Linked DNA regions of Homo sapiens: regions 2, 3, 4, 5 and 6 are each linked to region 1. The links are contacts of gene promoters, found by promoter capture Hi-C in blood cells and fetal thymus (Javierre and others, 2016). All regions are on one chromosome and are shown on one strand. Each heading gives the region's core, a stretch centred on a gene start or on the middle of the fragment in contact. The rest is flanking DNA. Distances are from core to core; before and after follow the strand shown.

Region 1 (3,016 bases), core at 233-2,732:
TGGGACCAGGGAGACAATGGAGTTTTAAATGTTGATAGCGTTTCACACCAAACACATAATGGGTGCCCTGAGTTTGAAAGCAGGTTTGCCTTTAAGGGTAGGTTTTATTGAATTGGGAGAAAGGAAGGAGGGTCTGGAGAACGGTCTGCAAGGGAGCGGGGTGCGAGGAGAGCGACGGAGGCTGGTGGTCCCCGAGCGGGCCTCCTGCGCCAGGTCCGTGGTCCGCGAGGGTCGGAGCCAGCGCCACGCAGGGCCCTCGGCTTTTTTCCCCAGCGCGGCCCCGTGGCCGAAAAAAATGAGCGCGCAAGTTAGAACTCGCCTGCGCTTTCGACATCTCCCAGCCGCTGCGGCAGAGCAGGCAGGCGAACTAGAAAAAGTCGGTCCAGTTCGCCCCCTAGCCCCAGGCGCACTGCGCTCCCTCCAGCGCCGACGGCGGCTGCGGGCGAGGGGCGCCCAGGCACCGGAGCCGTCGCCTCCCCAGCAGTGCCACCCCTGGCCATCGCCACCCCTACGGGATGTCACCGGCCCCACCCCAGCGGCCCCCTCCCGAAAAAGGGGTCTCCGCAGGGCCTGGATGGTACGGAAGTTCCCAGGACACACGGATGGGGCACCTCGGAGATGACCCCGGGAACCGGCCTGCGGGGCTGTGCCACGGGCAGGCGAACCTTCCGCCCGTCTGCTCTGGGGTCGGAGAAACGCGCCCAGTCAGCGGGAATGCGCCCGCCAGGGTTTGACAGGGAGGGGGGCGTCAACGCCAGAAGCAGATGTCAGCATCTGGATGGGGGTAGCAGAGGCAGAACTTCCAGAACGCCGGCCGTCAGCACGCACCCACCTCCCCCATCACCTATGCAGCCACAGAGGGAGGACACGGAGCGTCCTCCACAATGCTAGTCCTTCCGCGCCCCCCGCCCGGAGGACGGTGCACCCGGCGTCCCGGGCTCCCGTGGCGCCCACGTCCCCGGCTGGCGAAGCTCCCCGAGGCGTCTTGCGCGGCGATTACCTTGAATGGCAACGCTCCTCCGCGACCTGTGTTGTCCCCGCGCCCCGCGTGGGTCGGGATGGAGAAAGCGACGAGCCCGGGGTTGCGGGGAGCAACTCCAAACGCAGAAGAGTGGTCCTTGGGTCTTCGCCGGCGCCAAGCCTCCCGGGCTTCACGCGTACCCCAGGCTGCGGAGGAGCGCGGGCATGACGCCCGCGGGCTGCCCTCGGATTTGGGGAACGAGAGGAAGAAAGGACTCAGGCTTGGCGTTGCCTCCACCAAACTTTGCTCGCGAGTTGCGAAGGCTCAGAGCGCGCAGGCAAGCTGCGGCCTCGGGGCCCCCGGGGCTCGCGGCCGGCCCCCGCCAGCCCGGAGAGCAGTCGCCGCGCCGGGCCAGGTACGCCGCATGCAGCCCCGCGGCGCCCGAGCTTTGTGGCGGCCGCGCGCGCTCCCTCGCCCGCTCCGCACCCGCCGCCCGCCCGCTCGGCTCTCCACCGCGCTCTCCTCCAGCCGCCGCCCGCGCCGCCGCCGCCGCCCCCGCCTCCTCGCGGCGGGTCACGCCCCCACTGAAACCCGAGCCGTTTCCTGGACGGCGGCGCCCTCTCTGCCAATCAGCGCCGCGCGCCCGGGCCGCCCCGAGTCCCGCGCGGCTCCCGACGCCTCCGAGCAGCCGGAGACACCGGCCCGGGAGGCGAGGGCTCGGCCGCGATGCGGCCGTAGGGATGCAGCGACAGCCTCCGAATAAGGCCTGGTCCCGCGCCCCGCGCCACCTCCTCCCTCCTCCCCGGGCGAGCGAGGCTGGCCAACGGCTCGCTGAGCGACTGCGTTACGTTGTTTTATGTCAAGTTAGAAAACAAATGACCGAAGGCTCTAACCCTGCCCTCCCGCTAAAGAGACTTTAAAATGCGCCTGCTTGATACTGCGGGGAGGGTTGCCAGGCAGCTGAAGCTTTTGGAGGAGAGGAAGCCACTTGGAAATGTTCGCAGGACATTGCATGTTTCTGTCCTTCTAAACAATAGAAATGAGAGGAAAAAACTGAATATTAATGGAGGCCCTACTATGGGAGGGTCACACTACATAGGTGATTCTATTTCATCTGCCCAACCACCCTGCAGAGTACTATTCCCAGTTTCTGATAAGGAAACAGGATCAGAGAGGTTAAGTAATTTGCCTAGGACCACACAGCTGGCTACTAGGACAGCCTGACTTTGAATGTGGCTCTCTCAGAAAAAGCCAAAATTGCATCAAAAAAAAAAAGTGTTTAATAATATATGTTTGGATTAATAAAAAGAAATTCAAAGGAGTCTAAAGACAACTCTACCATAAATAGACCTTGAACAAAGTAATTCCTCCCTCTGAATCTTAGATTAAAAATCATAAATGCAAAATCTGATTCTTCAACTGCACACCAAGCTGTAACTGGTTAAAGTTCCTATGTCCATTTACCTTTTCACTAAGCCGTGTCTTCGGAATAATTTATTTTAAATATGCTTTTTCTCCCTCCTTATTCATCCAGCTCCTGAGCAGCCGTGCTTAAGTTCAAGACCATATAGATTAAAACCTTAATTATTTTTCTTTAGAAAAGGTCACTAAACCCAGAAATGCTTTAGAATCCTTTTGAGGCCTGAAGATAGATGAAGCATTGAGAACAAACCTGACTTGGAAAACAGACTTTTCCTGGATTTAGAAACATATTTGCACCTGTGTCACTAACATTGCACCCTTCATAACATTTACAAAAATATTTTTCAAGGTGCTACATGATTAGAAAATCATTTTTATTCACAAATATAGCACAGAAAACGTTTATGCAAGTTATTTAAAAGCCACACAAGTAAGAAATCCATTTAACTGCCTCAGGCAAAAGGCTATAACATTGTATTTTGGAAATTTGATAGCAACAAAATAAAAACTGGTTCTTAAGCAAAATTATCCCTCTATATGCTTGGTGGGAGGGTATGTTTTTGGTCAAGTCCTCTAACCTGGATTAGCCCCAGAGCCTATACATTAACGGACACCTCAGCCCAGGTTGACACT
Region 2 (3,016 bases), core at 277-2,776, 670 kb before region 1:
CCTCCTGCCTGGGAAACAAAGTCTCTCCAGTCCTTTTGCTGCCTTATGCCCCTGATCCCTGCACCCCCGGACCGGACCCCCAGCCCCATCCCATCCATGGGAACCACCAAGCTCCAAGTACTTATTGAGCCACCACCTTCTTCCAGGGACTCACCACCCCTGTCGGGGGATGCAGGGTTGCAGTGGAGAGCAGCCAGCTGGGGTCATTGGGAATACCAGAGTTGGGGCTTGGATGGAAACTGAGTGGGGAGGGCAGCAGTTCTGGGGAGGTGGGAGGAGATGTAGGTAAGTGAAGGGGGCCAGGGAGCAGCCCTGCAGGTAGGGGGCCGGCCAGAGGCTGGCAGCAGGAGAGGAGACCCCTGCAGGCAGTATGGACAGTGGGGCAGAAGTGAGCAGGCGGGAGGGCACATGCCACTTGAGGGCCCGGTGTGAGCTCAGCGAGGGGATCCAGCCAGGGTCCCTCCTGCAGAGGAACCAGCCTCAGTGTGGTCCGAAGAGCCCCAGGAGCTCAAGAAGGTGGCAAAGCCATGGCAGGCAGAGGGAAACTCAGGGAGGGGAAAGAAAAGATCGGAACTGAGGGGAGTCCTGCAGCAGCTACAGCAGGGAAGTGGTTCTGCAGCACCGTTTCCAGATTGCAGGGCTCGTTTAGAACCGTCTCAGCCTGCTGGGGTGGGAGACTGGAGAGGAGCTGCCCACAGCCTCCAGGGTGTTGTCAGAGCTTGGTGCTTGCCCTGCTCTGTCGGCAATCAGCACGGTTGCTGTGATGACACTGAGCTGCCTTGGAAGGAGATGCACAGGTAATGGGGACCTTTCTCAGGAATGCCATAAACTGTGACATAGGCCTCTCCTCGGGACTTTACAAAGCCTTAGTGAAATTCTGAAATCCACCAAATGCTTAATGTGATTCGGTTTGGGGGAAAAGCCAGAGAGGGGAACTGAATGTTGAATCAAGATTGAAACAGCCTCAGCCCACATGATGATGTGAGCAGCCACACATTTAGGTCCCCAAAAGGGTCACTGATAGGGTCACACTGGTCTGGCCCAGGAAGGGTCTGTCTGCATCTGTGCTGAGAGCTGGGGCCTCTGGAGGGCTCAGCGGAACCAGGTGAGACCAGCCAGCACCAGCCTGAGTCCTCAGCCCCCGGGCACCAGAGGCCTTCCCACCTGACTCTGCCATGACAAGTGCCCTGACTGTCTGCGGTGTTCTAGAAAGGTGACCAACAGGTGTAGGCTAATTACATTTCAAAAAAGTTTTTTTTTTTCCCGGCACATATAACAGGACTAGTCCTCTCCCCTCTTCTCATCAGATTCCATTTCCTTTAGCAAACGCACACGGTGTTCGATTTAAGTGCAATTCTCAGAAAACTTAATAACTGCAGTGTTTAATTAGTCTGACAACATTTATTGAAGCGATGAATACAGAAAAAAGTACTTTCAAGGAAGAAAAATGATGTGTCATTGTTTTGTGTTTTCTTTTCTCAAATCTGTAGGCAGGTATGAAACCGAGCAGCAATCTCTGTCTTGAAAAGCTGGTATTTCTGTTTCTAGAACGTATGTGTGTTTGGGGTGGGGTATAGAATAGAGGGATGAACTGAGTCCTTCACCCACTACCTGGTCTGCTCACTCTGCCCACGCGTGTCCCCTCGGCAGCCCTGTGAGTGCCTGAGCTGTGGCTCCCCAGGCAGTGAAGAGCTAGGCCCTGGAGCCAGACCCCCAGAGGTGATTCCCAGCTCTGCCATTGCCATGCCTCAGTTTCCCCATCTGCAAAATTGGCTTAATGACAGTGCTTCCCTCTTGCAGTCATAAAGCTCTTAGAATACAGCTTGGCAGAAAAATGTTGCCTGTCACTATTTGTGCTGTAAAAGCCCTACCTCTTGGCCGAATGGAGCTCAGTAAACCAATGGGAGAAACAGGTCCCTTCTGAGATCTCCCTAGATCCCTATTCAGCCCCTGGTAGGCTCACAATAAGGGCTCAGTGTTTGTGGGAGTGAGTATCTGTGCAGAAGGAAGATCAGAATCCAGAGGTGACAGTTTAAGGTTAACATATTATTTTCCCAGCATTTCAAAAGAAAATGCCGTGAAACACTAGTCCCACAAGATATTCCTGAGAAAAAACAAATGGGATAGGAACCAAATGAGCTGGGAAAACAGGGCATTCAATGTCTCCCCTCAGAGATTCCCAGTGCACGCTTGCACTTCAAAGGCTCTGAGAAGTCCTACCATAAAGACACCTGCTTAAATGTGTTTCAGCCAATACTAGCTAAACTCATTTGCTGAGGAATTTCCTTCTCCCCTCTTTGCTTTCCCTCCCTCCCTTCCCTTCTCCCTCCCTCTCTCCCTCCCTTCCGTTCATGCTGTGAATGCCCCATGGAATCCATGCTGGATTAGGAGTGGGCACAGTTGCTCGAGAAGCACAGGAACTTGCTGGGTGTGCTACAGAAAGCCTTTGTTTTCTCTCTTTTTTTTTTTTTTTTTTTTTTTTTTTTTTTTTTTTTTTGAGACGGAGTCTCACTCTGTCACCCAGGCTGGAGTGCAGTGGCGCGATCTCCGCTCACTGCAAGCTCCGCCTCCTGGGTTCACTCCATTCTCCTGCCTCAGCCTCCCGAGTAGTTGGGACTACAGGTGCCCGCCACCACACCCAGCTAATTTTTTGTATTTTTAGTAGAGACGGGTTTTCATCGTGTTAACCAGGATGGTCTCGATCTCCTGACTTCGTCATCCGCCCACCTCGGCCTCCCAAAGTGCTGGGATTACAGTCGTGAGCCACCGCACCCGGCCTAGAAAGCCTTTCTAAGCAGGCAACAGAGCAACGATGCCACTCTCTCAATAGGATTTCTGGAAGGCCCAGCACTGCAGTACCAGGGAGGATCCAGGGGTCTAAGCCTTGTAGGAGGCTAGTACCTCAACCATGGAGACAGATGGTTTCTTTCCAGAGCACAGCCTCAGGGCTCCCTTTCAACTGATCTGACCTTGGCTGACGCTAAAGGATTTAATGTCTTTTCCCAGAGTGAAACTA
Region 3 (3,016 bases), core at 259-2,758, 640 kb before region 1:
TTTTCACAAAAATGTATTATTTATATTAACATATAACAGGTTTATTATGTTATTGTAAATAAATTAATATTTTACTTTTTAGACCCTCATCCAATGATCCATCAATTTTTTTTTTTTGAGACAGAGTTTTGCTCTTGTTGCCCAGGCTGGAGTGCATTGGCACCATCTCGGCTCACCGCAACCTCCACCTCCTGGGTTCAAGCAATTCTCCTGCCTCAGCCTCCCAAGTAGCTGGGATTACAGGCACGCACCACCATGCCTGGCTAATTTTGTATTTTTAGTAGACACGGGGTTTCTCCATGTTGGTCAGGCTGGTCTCGAACTCCTGACCTCAGGTGATCCGCCCGCCTCGGCCTCCCAAAGTACTGGGATTACAGGCGTGAGCCACCATGCTCAACCTCAAGTAAATACTTAAAATGTTCATAGTTTTAATTTCTAAATATGGCAAATGGCAATAAACAAAATCCCCATTTTAAAAAAGCTCTTTTGGGTTCTCTGCGATCTTCAGGATTCAAAAGGGGCTCTGAGACCAAATAGTTTTAGAACCACTATTCTAAGCAAAAGAATTTTCATACACATTAGTGTGCAGGTACACATTACTGCGCATGCACACGTATGTACACTTAAAAGTATATTGTGACCAAATATCTTCTCATACCGCTAGACCAAGGAGTAGCAAACTTTTTCTGTAAAGGACCAGAGAGCAAATGTTTCAGGCTTTTTGGGGCTGTCTAGTCTCTGTAGGGACCACTCAGCCCTACTGTAGTATCGACAAATCAGACACAGATGATCGCTAATAAGTGGGTGTGGCCATGTTCCAATAAAATTATTTATGAACACTGAAATTTGAACTTTGTATAACTTTCACTTTGCATAATTTCATAAAATGTTATTCTTCTGCAAATCTTCTTCTTCTTCCACATAAATACATTTATAAATCAGATAACATCCTTGTTTTCTACTTTTTGACATGGGAAATGTGATTATCCATGCCACGTCACTGCTTTTCTCAATGCTATCAATGGCCTTTAGATTAAGTGGGTGGTGAAGGTCAAGGGAGTCATCAGAAGTTTGCTTCTCTGGGAAGGCACATGTGAGCTGGGTGCTTATGCCTCAGAGATGTCTACGAGGAACCCAGCCAAAGGCAGGGCTAATGAAAGAAGAAACCGAGAAATTCATTATGCTGAACTGGGATCCAAAGTGTATAACAACCTCTAACATTTATTTTCCCACTCATTCAACACACACTGTATTTATGCGCTTACTATGTACCAGGCATTAAGAGTTAAAAGATAAAATTTGAATTCTATTTGCCAAAGAGACTTTCTGGAAAGCTTTTGGGAAAGGATGTCCACGAATAGAGGAGGTCTGTAATCCACAGGCAAGACCTCTGCAGTCTGAAAGATTCATACACCTAAGATACATACAGTCATTCTCATCATCTGTGGTGGTTATGTTCAATACAGGCACTCTGAACACCGAATTAGCACGTCCTGACCCACTGCTCCCAGGGGAAATACAAGGTTTGGTCCCTGTGAGCCTCTGATCATACTGTTTTTGTCAACAGATCAATGCATAACCGTGTTTTATGTGTGTTTCTGTTTAAAGACCCCTTATTTAATGTATACTGTTGACTCACTGATATTGAACTCAGTGCCCATGGCACTATCACTTATGCATGAACAAGCTTATCTAACGCATAAACTCTCTCTATAAGGCAGGAAAGACCCTTCTTGCGCTTAGGAACACCAGACGGCACTTCAGCACTGTGCCTAGGGGCCATTTTAAACAGCGAAATCATCAAGAAAAAAGCACAAAAATGAGAAAAATGTTGCACTAAACAGAGCATGAAAGGACATTTGCTCATAGTGTGAGAGCTGAACATGCACATACGTGTTCATCACTCTGCGCTTGTCTGTGAATGACCGTGAACATGCTGCAAGTCTTGATTTGGGGGTTACAAGTTAATTTTATCAAGTAGAAGAATTTGCCAACATGGAATTTATGAACAATGAGGATCAATTATATATATTTTTGGTGTCAGAGAAGAGCTCACGATGGAACCCCGTACACTTGTTTGGGAGGGGAGTTCGGTTGTGTGCACCTAAAATCTTTGATGCTGGGAGTCCAACTTTGGAAACTTATCTGGAGAAAATTATCAGGCAAATGAGTGAATGATTGTGTACAAGGATGTTCATTTATAATTTAATGAAACACTATGCAATCATGAAAATGCATTGATGAATATTTATTAACATGAAAAATTTATGAAATGCAAAATGAAAATACAGTCAAACAATATACACATCATAGGCCCATTTTTGTGATTAATATATTTTATTTACGATGTCTAAAACAGATATATTTAGTTTATAATCCAGATATTTTCAATTTCTGAGTAGAAAAAATTCTGAAATTATATATATTACTAAGGTACCATGTCTGGGAGTTGGGATTATAGAACAATTTAGTTTTGTTCTTTGTACTTTTCCGTGTTTTCTAAATTTGTTTACAGTGAAAGAACTGCTTCTATAATTAGAAATGTATTGTTTCACAATGAAGATTTTTAAGGTTCTTACTCTCTGCCAGGCATAGGGCTAAGTTCCTTAACTCTTGAATTTTTATTAAAATTGTATGAAACAATCATTTATATTTCACTATTTATAATAAAAATAGAAAAAACCTCAAGATTCCCTAGCCTCATTCCTCAGATTTGGAAGGCCCTCGAAGGCCAGCTCCCCCCGACACATCTTGCTGCCATTCTGGGAACCGGAATCAGAGGTGGAGACTCTGGCCCAAGTCCCCACTGCTCAGAAAAGTGCTGAGGTCTGAGTCTTTCCAGCCAGGGCAGAATTCCTGGGGCTTGGCCACAGGGACAGGACTAACAGATTCAGGCAGGAATTTTGTCTGTCTCCTCTATTTTTAAAAGAAATAGCCCCTGCCTAAACTGGGTTGAGCCTTGTATTATCTGGTTTTCTTCAAAGCCTGAGCAAAGACGAGCTGCCGCTATCCAGTT
Region 4 (3,016 bases), core at 200-2,699, 620 kb before region 1:
CAGGGCAGGCACACATTGCTCATCTTTGAGGGCTCCCAAAGGGCCTACCTACCACAATGCCCTGCACTGAGGTGAAGGAGGAGGTGAGTTAAAAGCCCAACAGGGCCAGGCACAGTGGCTTACGCCTGTAATCCCAGCACTTTGGGAGGCCGAGGTGGGTGGATCACGAGGTCAAGGGATTGAGACCATCCTGGCCAACATGGTGAAACCCTGTCTCTACTAAAAATACAAAAATTAGCTGGGCATGGTGGTGCACCCCTGTAGTCCCAGCTACTCGGGAGGCTGAAGCAGGAGAATTGCTTGAACCAAGGAGGCGGAGGTTGCAGTGAGCCGAGATCGTGCCACTGCACTCCAGCCTGGCAACACAGCAAGACTCCGTCTCAAAAAAAAAAAAAAAAAAAGGCCCAACAGGATTTCATTGTTTACATTGAAATATTAATGGGTTACACATGGTAGATTTGAAGCATTCTGTATGCACTGCGTACTTGTACTAAAATCCTCTGTCCACTCATCTGCTTTCTCATTGGTCTGGGAAAAAGTTAAGGTATGTCACGTTAGTCTATGTGTCCTGGGGCCTTGAGCTACACCTTGTAGATCTGTAGTAAACATTTCCTGACCCCCAACCAAGAGCGAAAATGTCAAAGTCTTTCACATTACCCTTGTTAAGACTAAATTAAGGCTCTTGCAAATATAATCACATCTTTCTCTTTCATACATTTGGTGAGGGAGCACTGGCTTTTATTCTGGGATCATTGCTCTCTGCCATCCTTCCCAATCCATTGCTCTCCATTTGTCCACCCACCGCTAAATCTTCACCTCCTAAACCAGTTCTATTTGGACTGGCCATCAGCCCAATCCATACAACCTTCCTTCCCTTCTCTCCTCTCGCACTTGGGCCTCTCACCTTGGCTTTACTTTGGAGAAAGTTTAAAAGGCCGGTCTCCTCCGTCCCCTTTAATAATATTATGTTATCTTGATCAGCATTTGTATTTCACATTGTAAGATTCTGGCCTGAATTCTGACTTCACTGGGGAAGGGGAGGGAGTTGGAAAGAGGATTGTTGATGACGGCGATATTTTATTACGTGTGATGGTCATGGGTTAGACGTTCAGCTCTTCAAGCTGGAGGCTGAGGGTGGGGAAGGGGAGAGGACACTAAGTATCATGAAGTCACAGTGCAAGATATTTTTCAAGGAGACATCAAAGCCTTTTTCCATGGTGTCTTGCCTTGACCCCATTTCACACTGGCAAAACACAAACTCAAATTAAAGTAAAAATACCAGGACAGCTCCATTTAGCCAGTTGGGCTGCTGGGCTAAGTGACTGACTTTATTAAAATCGCCAAATGCAAACATTCCAAGATTTATTTTCCTTGCTTATAATTTTGCTGCCTTTCCACTGGTGGGCTGTTTATTTCTAATAATTTGGTAGAAAAAAACATTGGCTCATACCAGTGGAGGTCTTATATGCCAAACTGCAAACCAGAGCACATTTTACTGAGGAATAAAACCCCTGGAATACAGGCTCCGGGGGGCCCGCTGACGGCAAATTTACAAGCGTAGTACAATTGACGCCATTATAATTAGTTCCCCCCAAAAGTCTTATTTTTCAGGGCAGAGATCCGACTCTTTCTCTTTACACATGAATATCTCCGGACTAGAGCAAGAACATTACAGAGGGTGAGTCATAGACCGGCTTTGGGCTTTAAAGATTAACGCAGATCCTATAAATCTAACCCACATTCTTTTACTGGGAATGACTGACTTTTATGAAAACCAAGGATTGTAAATCAGAAACCTAAATAGCTTACTTTGCAGCAGATAAACACAGATTTATGTAGTGAGGGAGCCCTAAGTTAACCCTTTCATGGGGCCACGGCGGACCTGAGGGTATGTGTGCGGTGGGGGTGGGTTCCATCAGCACTGATGTTCCTTTCTAAACACTGCACGGTGGAGAGGAGACATGCCACATGTTTATCTCCAGCAGACTGAGGTGGGAGGCAGGAGGAGTGCGTCTTCTTGAGCCAAGTGAGCTTCCTACTGATCCATCTCAGCTGGGTGCACGTTAAGCAGACAAGATTTGGCCCCTGATTATTTCAAAGGACAGTTTCCAACTTGAAGTGACACACACACCAGGGCTAACCTAGAAGGGGCTTCTGCACTCGTGCTCGTATGCGAGCCTATGGTAGCCTGGGCTTCTAATCATCAGCTGTGTAATCTCTGACAAAGCACCAAACCTCTGCGGACCTCAACCTTCTCGTCAGCAACATGCTGCACCTGTCATGTCATAAGGATTAAACAGGACAGTTTTGTAAGGTGCTTAAAACAGTGCTGGACTCACGCTAGGCACTCGATACATATTAGCCAGTATTATTCCTATTGTTACTAGAGCCACTGGTTACATAGACCGGGCTTCTCAAACTACTGCGCACACAAGTCGCCTAGGGACCGAATTAACGTGCAGCCCTGATGCAGCCGCCTGAGACCCGCCTTTGCAGCAGCCTGCCAGGAGGTGCGGATGCTGCCGGCGCCTGGACCGCGCGTTGAGCAGTGCAGGTGAACAGCTCGCCTAACGCACAAGCCACGCCCACACCCTTTCTACACGCTTTCTCGTTCACTTCTCATTGCAACTCCTTCCGCCGCGTGGACAGGTTCAGCACTCTCGGAGTCGATGTCATTATTCGCCATCGACGCGAACCTCGGCAAAGAGACGGGTCTTACCGGTCTCCGAATGTTCTCAGGCCCTAAGCGCGCAGCCCCGCACCCGGGTGCAGCCGGCGCGGTCCCACGTGTCCCTACCGCGAGCCGCTCCCCGCGTCCCTGCTGCCGCCGCGCGCTTAACTCTGCCTGCCCGCCCGCCCCGCCCCGCCCGGCCGTTCCTGCGCAGCCCTGGGTCGGCCTCGCGCTTCTGTGTTTAAACAAGCCTCGCCCTTGTGTTGCCCACTGCAACTTTAAAGGGAAACAGGGCCCGCTGATCCCGGGAGGGAGAGAAGGACATCTATCATTTTTATGTGGCAT
Region 5 (3,016 bases), core at 374-2,873, 600 kb before region 1:
CCTGAGATAAGGAAGACGGAGTGCCAGCACCCCCAGACCTCACATTCCAAGGGAGAAGTCAGGGACTTATACAGACTAATATGATTCAAGGCACTAAGAGCCCAAACAATGGGACACAGCCTGATAAACAGCCTGGAGAGTAGGGAGGCAATCAGGGAAGGTTTCCTGAAGGAGGAGAGACCTGAGCAGAGTGGAGAGTTGGCCAAGCAGAGGAACTTGAGGGCATTGTCAGCAGAGGGGATGGATGCAACACCACCTTGAGGAGATCCTTCTTCCCTGCACCTTCTCACCTCCAATCTCAACACAAATTTCTCTGTACCACCCACTGGTGTGGCCCCTGGTGTATGCTGCTCTGTGTAGCAGTGTGTTCATCTGGCTGCTTGGCATGACCAGACTGTGTGTGTGTGTGTGCGTGTGTGTGTGTGTGTTTGTGTGAAGAGAGAGGGAGAGATTTATACTCTCCTTCTACCCTCTGTGCTGTCCCCAGAACACTCTCCATTAAAGCTTGTTGAGCAAATATCAATGACAACATCTCCAGCACAGCCATTGAAGCCTCATGCTTCATCCCAAGCCTGGGGTCCAGCGCAGGCTCTGCCCCTTCCCAGCTGTGCTTCTTCAACCGTGAGATGTAGCTAATCATGGCATCAGCCTCCAGGGTTCTTGTGGTGACTATGTCAAGTGATGCATACGTGCAGAGCATTCAGCAAGTGCCTGGCACACAGAAAGTGTTAAATAAATGGTAGCTATTATTATTCTTGGTGGTATTCTAAAGCTCCCACAGCCACTGTGCCAATGCCCTGGCTGGCATTCTGGAGGCCCCAGGGCACAGTGAATAAAAGCTCCCATTTAAAGGCCAGGTCTTGGGGGTGAGTCCTGCCCTGGCTATGCAACCTCAGGTTGGTGCCTAGGAGGACCCGGGTCTCCTGTGAAGTGGCCGACTAAGGCTCTTGGAACTTTCCCAGAACAACGATCTAACTCCCCACTGCCCTCCTCCCCCAACGACTGACCATAGCTCCCAGATCTCCCATCAGTTCCCTGCTTTGGAGTCGTGGACACTGGCCCAGGGGGACTGGCCTCTGTGCCCCGAGAGCCTCTCTGGCCCCCTCCACACACTGACTCCCAGCTTGGCAGCAGGCAGCTGTAGAATTTACAACTGTCTGTCCAGCCTTGGCCTCTGCCCTTGAAGGTGGGGGATGAGCCTGGCCCTGCTGCTGGCCAGCGCTGCTCCATGGGGAGTTCCTGCTGCCTCCCACTTTGCTGCTGAGCCACTTCCTAAAACCCACAGAGGCTGAGGAGCTGCCAAGTCCTCCAGGAAAGGCTGAGGCAAGTGGTACCTGGGCAGGCAGGGTGGCATGGTGGCTGTACACACGTGCTTTTGGAGTCTTGGATCCAAATTTCAGCATTGCCCTTCCAAGTCCCAGAACCTTGGACAAGTCACTCAGTCACTCAGAGCCGCTGTTTCCCAGCTATAAAAATGGGAAAATACCAGTGCTCTCCCTTTGGGCTGATGATTGTGGAATTACATGATATTTGCCCTCAGCCTAGTGCCTATGTCAAGGAACAATAGATGTCTTCTTAAAAAAGAATGTGCTATTAGCCTAAAGCTGCCAATCAAGTTCCAGAAGCAAACAGTGCACAAAATGGGCATCTCCTGAATCACAAGTGGCCGCCTTTACAGCTTGACTTGGGGACCCAGGAAGGTGAGAGACAGTAAACAGACCGGAGGAGATGCTACCTGGGCCTGCAGGAGGAGCAAGGGGTGCAAATGTAGGGTGCAGGTCCCAAAGGACCCAGGGAGGGGAGGAGGGGAAATACCCACTCCTGGGCGGGCCCTGCAGAGGGAGTCTGTGCACTCAGCACAGAGAAAGGCCCTGGCAGTGGGTTTCCCTTGGGTGGGGGGATCCCTGATGCTCAGCCCTGCAGCGGTGCAGAGCAAAGGGGCGCTGAGGGTGGCCCGATGGCACCTTCTTATCTGAGTGATGTAGCTGGGGGCTCAGCTGGCCTGTGGAGTGCCTAGGAACAACTTGCCAGAAGCCAGATTGGTATTGAGTGCACTGTGGCTGGAGCTGCCATTCGGTTGGACTCCAGGGGGTAAAGGGAGGAAACATGGCTGAAATGGCGGGGGGAACCCAGGGGCTGCCTTGCTGGGCATGAAGTGTTTTCTGGAGCACCGGAGTGATTAGAACTGCTTCCCTCCACAAGGCAACTCCTCTGTTTGGGCTTTCACACCGGGGGAGATGCTCTTTTCCTCTTTCCTGTGATTTTTTGTGGTGAGTAGACACTGGCCTTCTCGACTGGAACCTGAAGGTCAAGAAAGAACGAGGGTAGAAAGGAAGCCTCGGTTCTTAGGGACCACCCAAGGGTCTTAGGATGAAGCCCCTGGGAGGGACCCCCTGCACAACTCCCTCTGGATCCCGTGATCATGGAGCGGGAGAACAGCTGGTGAAGGCTGCAGGGGTTTCACATCCCAGGTCTTGGCCAATTTGCTTCCACCACAGACATGATTCTGAGTGACAGAAAGTGTGCTGCTGGCACAGGAGGCCAACAGGACGTCCGGGAGTTGTGAGGCTCCAAGATTGAGAGGGCTATGGCCTCCTTACTCTTTGAGTCACTACTGAATGCTGCCTCCTTATAGAAGCCTCCCCGCGCCAGGTTTCTCTATGACCTGTGCTCTCTGTTTCTTCCACGGTGCAAATTACCATTTGTAATTACGTATCAATTTGCTCCTTTGTTCTCTAGAATAGAAGCTTCTGGAAGAAAGGGGCCTGGTGTACCTATTCTCTATGGTATACTTGACATGCCACTAGGGGGCAAAGAGGACAAAAGGGCTTCAGAGAAAGGCCTAGACATGCGTTGCTGAAAGCATTTGACATTTGGGCTGAGGTGGTGGGGGAGAAGGCAACAGCAATTTCTAGGCACGGGAAGAGTTATGTCATGCAAAGTGTAACCTGGCACAGAGCAGGGGAGAGACTGGAGACCAGGAGACAAGTTTGGAGGCCACTGCCATGGGTTAGCT
Region 6 (3,016 bases), core at 262-2,761, 550 kb before region 1:
TTTCTTTGTGCCTCAGTTTTTTCATCTATAAGATGGGGATAATGATAATCTTACCTCTCAGAGCTGTTGTGAAGATCGAATATATTCATATTGGGAAGGACTTAGAACAGTGCCTGGCATATATTAATAAATGTGTGGTAATTATTTTTTGCTGACATTAGTTTGAATTGTGTCCCTGTCAATAGATTGGATTTCGTGGGTGGCATCTCAGGTGGATTTGATGGAAAGACAAAGCTGTCTCTCATGGGAGCTGGGCTCCTACTTTCACCCAAAGGCACTGAACTGCATCCCAATTGCCAAATCTACCAACCAAGAAACAATAAACCCAATACCTTCCACGGGAATTACCCTAATCTGTGACTGGCCTGGTGAGTGTGTCATTTATAGAGTCACCATAACCACAGAACGTGGTACATGCCAGCAATCTTCGGGGACCTTAGTGCTCCCCTTCCAGATATAGAGCGAGGTTTGCCTGAGTCCAGGACCTGGCCGAGTGGGCCAGATTGCTGTGTGGGTTTATGGAACAGAGTGTGATGATAATGGGCTTCTAGATTCTTTCGGTGCAGACTCCACCTCCCTGCCTGCAGCCAATACGGAGCCCTGACAGGAAATACAAAGCCGCTGACAGCCCCAGACTTGTCCGCACCACCATCAGGGCTCTGAGCAGCCGAGCTGGAGCCCCCTCTCCCTCCAGGTCGGCCATCCGGCTGGGTCGGCTCAGTCAACAGCAGTTTACAGTTTGGCTGACTACAGCCTGACTCCACAAGGGGAATAAAGCCCAGCATTGTGCTGGGCTTGCAACATCTTTCCCCGTCCAGAGTTCCTGATGTGTTTGTTACACAGGATCTGGTCTGAATGTTTCCTTTGTCGCAGACCTTCACGTGCTGAGGTGGGTCTGCCTTCTCCGCGGCAGTCCTGGGTTAAATAAATACATTAAGGCAACATACACGGCTTGACACTGGAGCCAGCCTCAATAACTCAAATAATTCATGTGGCAAAAGATGGAGCCTCTGTGGTTTTGAATTCATTTAAAGATGGATTTCTTTGTTCACTTCCTTTGCTCGAGGAGAACACAAACTGGGAAGGGGCCGCCATGCTCCAACTCAGCTGGCCATTTTTCTCCAGCAAGTCTGTTTGAGAGTTTCTAAATCCCGTGCAGATGAACACAGAACATGACCTTCAGCCAGTTATAGGATACCATGCTGACATCACCACATAAATATACACTCCCGAGAAAGCTGTGATTAAGCTCCGCGCAGATTTTTATCACTTTTCCAGTGCACCGGCAGGCTGCTTGTTCGCCATGCACCTTTACAAAACTCATAATATTTAGAAATGTGCTGTGTTAGCCCCAGAGGCTTAAATAAACTAAAGCCTGTGAAGGTTTTAATGTAACAAGTTACCTTCACATGTGAAATTACGAGTCTACATGATACTCAATAAGGCCAACATTGTACACACTCTGTTCTTTTGGGATCTTATGTACATTTATCCTGACATATCTGTTTCAGTTTTTTAAGAACGGAAAATATTTCTATTTCAATACCACCATACATGTTCATGACACTAAAGAATGAGTGAGATTGTATATTTAAAGAAATTCAGAGTCTCCGCCGGGTGCTATGGCTCATGCCTATAATCCCAGCACTTTGGGAGGCTGAGGTGGGCGCATCACAAGGTCAGGAGTTCGAGACCAGCCTGGCCAACATGGTGAAACCTCGTCTCTACTAAAAATACCAAAATTAGCTGGGCATGGTGATGGGTGCCTATAATCCCAGCTACTTGGGAGGCTGAGGCAGGAGAATTGCTTGAACTCGGGAGGCCGAGATTGCAGTGAGCCGAGATCGTGCCATGCACTCCAGCCTGAGTGACAGAGCAAGACTACATCTCGGAAAACAAAACAAAACAAAATATTCAGAATCTCTACTCAAGGAGTTTGTGCTTTAAGGCCAACAGAAGGATGGGTGGGAGGGTGCTGTCATTGTAATCTCCTATAAAATCACCAAGTTTTCATTTTCTTTTCTTTTCTTTTTTTTGAGACAGAGTCTCTCTGTCGCCCAGGCTGGAGTGCAGTGGCACAATCTCAGCTCACTGCTCACTGCAACCTCGGCTTCCCGGGTTCAAGCGATTCTCCCACCTCAGCCTCCTGAATAGCTGGGATTATAGGCATGTGCCACCATGCCCCGCTAATTTTTGTACTTTTAGTAGAGACAGGGTTTCACCATGTTGGTCAGGCTGGTCTCAAACTCCTGACCTCTTGATCCACCCGCCTCGGCCTCCCAAAGTGCTGGGATTACAGGTGTGAGCCATCATGCCCGGCCTTCATTTACTTTTAAAAGTGCAGATAAAAGATTTGTTTTATGAGTATAGCAGAGATTCTCAACTGAGACAATTTTGCCCCCCAGGGGACACTTAGCAATGCCTAGAGATATTTTTTGGTTGTTACAACTGGAGAAGCAGGGTACTATTGGCATCTAGAGGGTAGAAATCATGATGCCAATATCTATGTATGTATCCTTCCATACACAGGACAGCCCCCCTCAACAAAGAATTGCTCATTCCAAAATGCCAACAGTACCATGCTTCAGAAACCCTAAGGTACAGTACATTTGGGAGGAGGGGTTGGGACAGCATATGTTCTAACAGGCTGGATGACTGTAAACTTTTTAAGGTGCTATGCAAACACTAACCTTGCCTTCTAGTCAATTTACTGGCTGCTAAACATTGTTTCAAAATTCTGACTCTCCATTTATCCTAAGCACATTGCTATAAAATGCCTTATTGATGAGGCTTGCCTGGCCCAAAATCTAAACAGGGCTGCTCAAGTTTTCTCTTTTTAAAAGAGAAAAATAAAAAACTTTTCTTTTTTACTTTGAAATGATGTTAAACTAAACATGTAGTTTCTAACATAGTAGACAGTACCTTCACCCTGCTTTCCCCCAGTGACAGCATCTTACATAACTATAGTATAATATCAAAACCAGAAAACTGATATTGGTATGATACTATTAAACTA

Evidence for each region. The method cuts DNA at HindIII sites, captures the fragments that hold promoters and counts their contacts. A CHiCAGO score of 5 or more calls a contact.
Region 2: a fragment that was not itself captured here is called in contact with the fragment with the promoter of FGFR2 in region 1 in 1 of 17 cell types (M0 macrophages); the score reaches 6.1 in M0 macrophages.
Region 3: a fragment that was not itself captured here is called in contact with the fragment with the promoter of FGFR2 in region 1 in 5 of 17 cell types (endothelial precursors, M1 macrophages, M0 macrophages and 2 more); the score reaches 10.6 in endothelial precursors.
Region 4: a contact is called between a fragment that was not itself captured here and the fragment with the promoter of FGFR2 in region 1, in 2 of 17 cell types (M0 macrophages and M1 macrophages). The highest score is 5.6, in M0 macrophages.
Region 5: a contact is called between a fragment that was not itself captured here and the fragment with the promoter of FGFR2 in region 1, in 1 of 17 cell types (M1 macrophages). The highest score is 6.1, in M1 macrophages.
Region 6: a contact is called between a fragment that was not itself captured here and the fragment with the promoter of FGFR2 in region 1, in 1 of 17 cell types (M2 macrophages). The highest score is 5.4, in M2 macrophages.

What each region holds. Positions count from the first base shown.
Region 1 is chr10:121,596,962-121,599,977 of GRCh38, forward strand. It overlaps FGFR2 (fibroblast growth factor receptor 2), which reads right to left and starts at 1,483. Exons shown (of 18, transcript NM_000141.5): 1 at 1,001-1,483. RefSeq lists an enhancer at 1-689. The HindIII fragment of the contact is 3,911 bases long and covers 1-1,925 here.
Region 2 is chr10:120,926,433-120,929,448 of GRCh38, forward strand. All of the region lies in intron 2 of LOC105378519 (a long non-coding RNA gene), which reads right to left. Among named protein-coding and RNA genes, the nearest start is that of WDR11, 77 kb to the left of the region's middle. The HindIII fragment of the contact is 3,313 bases long and covers 1-3,016 here.
Region 3 is chr10:120,959,117-120,962,132 of GRCh38, forward strand. The region is part of intron 2 of LOC105378519 (a long non-coding RNA gene); the gene reads right to left. Among named protein-coding and RNA genes, the nearest start is that of WDR11, 110 kb to the left of the region's middle. The HindIII fragment of the contact is 353 bases long and covers 1,333-1,685 here.
Region 4 is chr10:120,976,976-120,979,991 of GRCh38, forward strand. The region is part of intron 2 of LOC105378519 (a long non-coding RNA gene); the gene reads right to left. Among named protein-coding and RNA genes, the nearest start is that of WDR11, 130 kb to the left of the region's middle. The HindIII fragment of the contact is 9,962 bases long and covers 1-3,016 here.
Region 5 is chr10:120,997,262-121,000,277 of GRCh38, forward strand. It overlaps LOC105378521 (a long non-coding RNA gene), which reads right to left. Exons shown (of 4, transcript XR_001747611.2): 4 at 2,105-2,301. It overlaps LOC105378520 (a long non-coding RNA gene), which reads right to left and starts at 309. Exons shown (of 3, transcript XR_946375.3): 1 at 1-309. The HindIII fragment of the contact is 2,243 bases long and covers 503-2,745 here.
Region 6 is chr10:121,042,530-121,045,545 of GRCh38, forward strand. All of the region lies in intron 3 of LOC105378521 (a long non-coding RNA gene), which reads right to left. Among named protein-coding and RNA genes, the nearest start is that of LINC01153, 130 kb to the right of the region's middle. The HindIII fragment of the contact is 5,299 bases long and covers 1-3,016 here.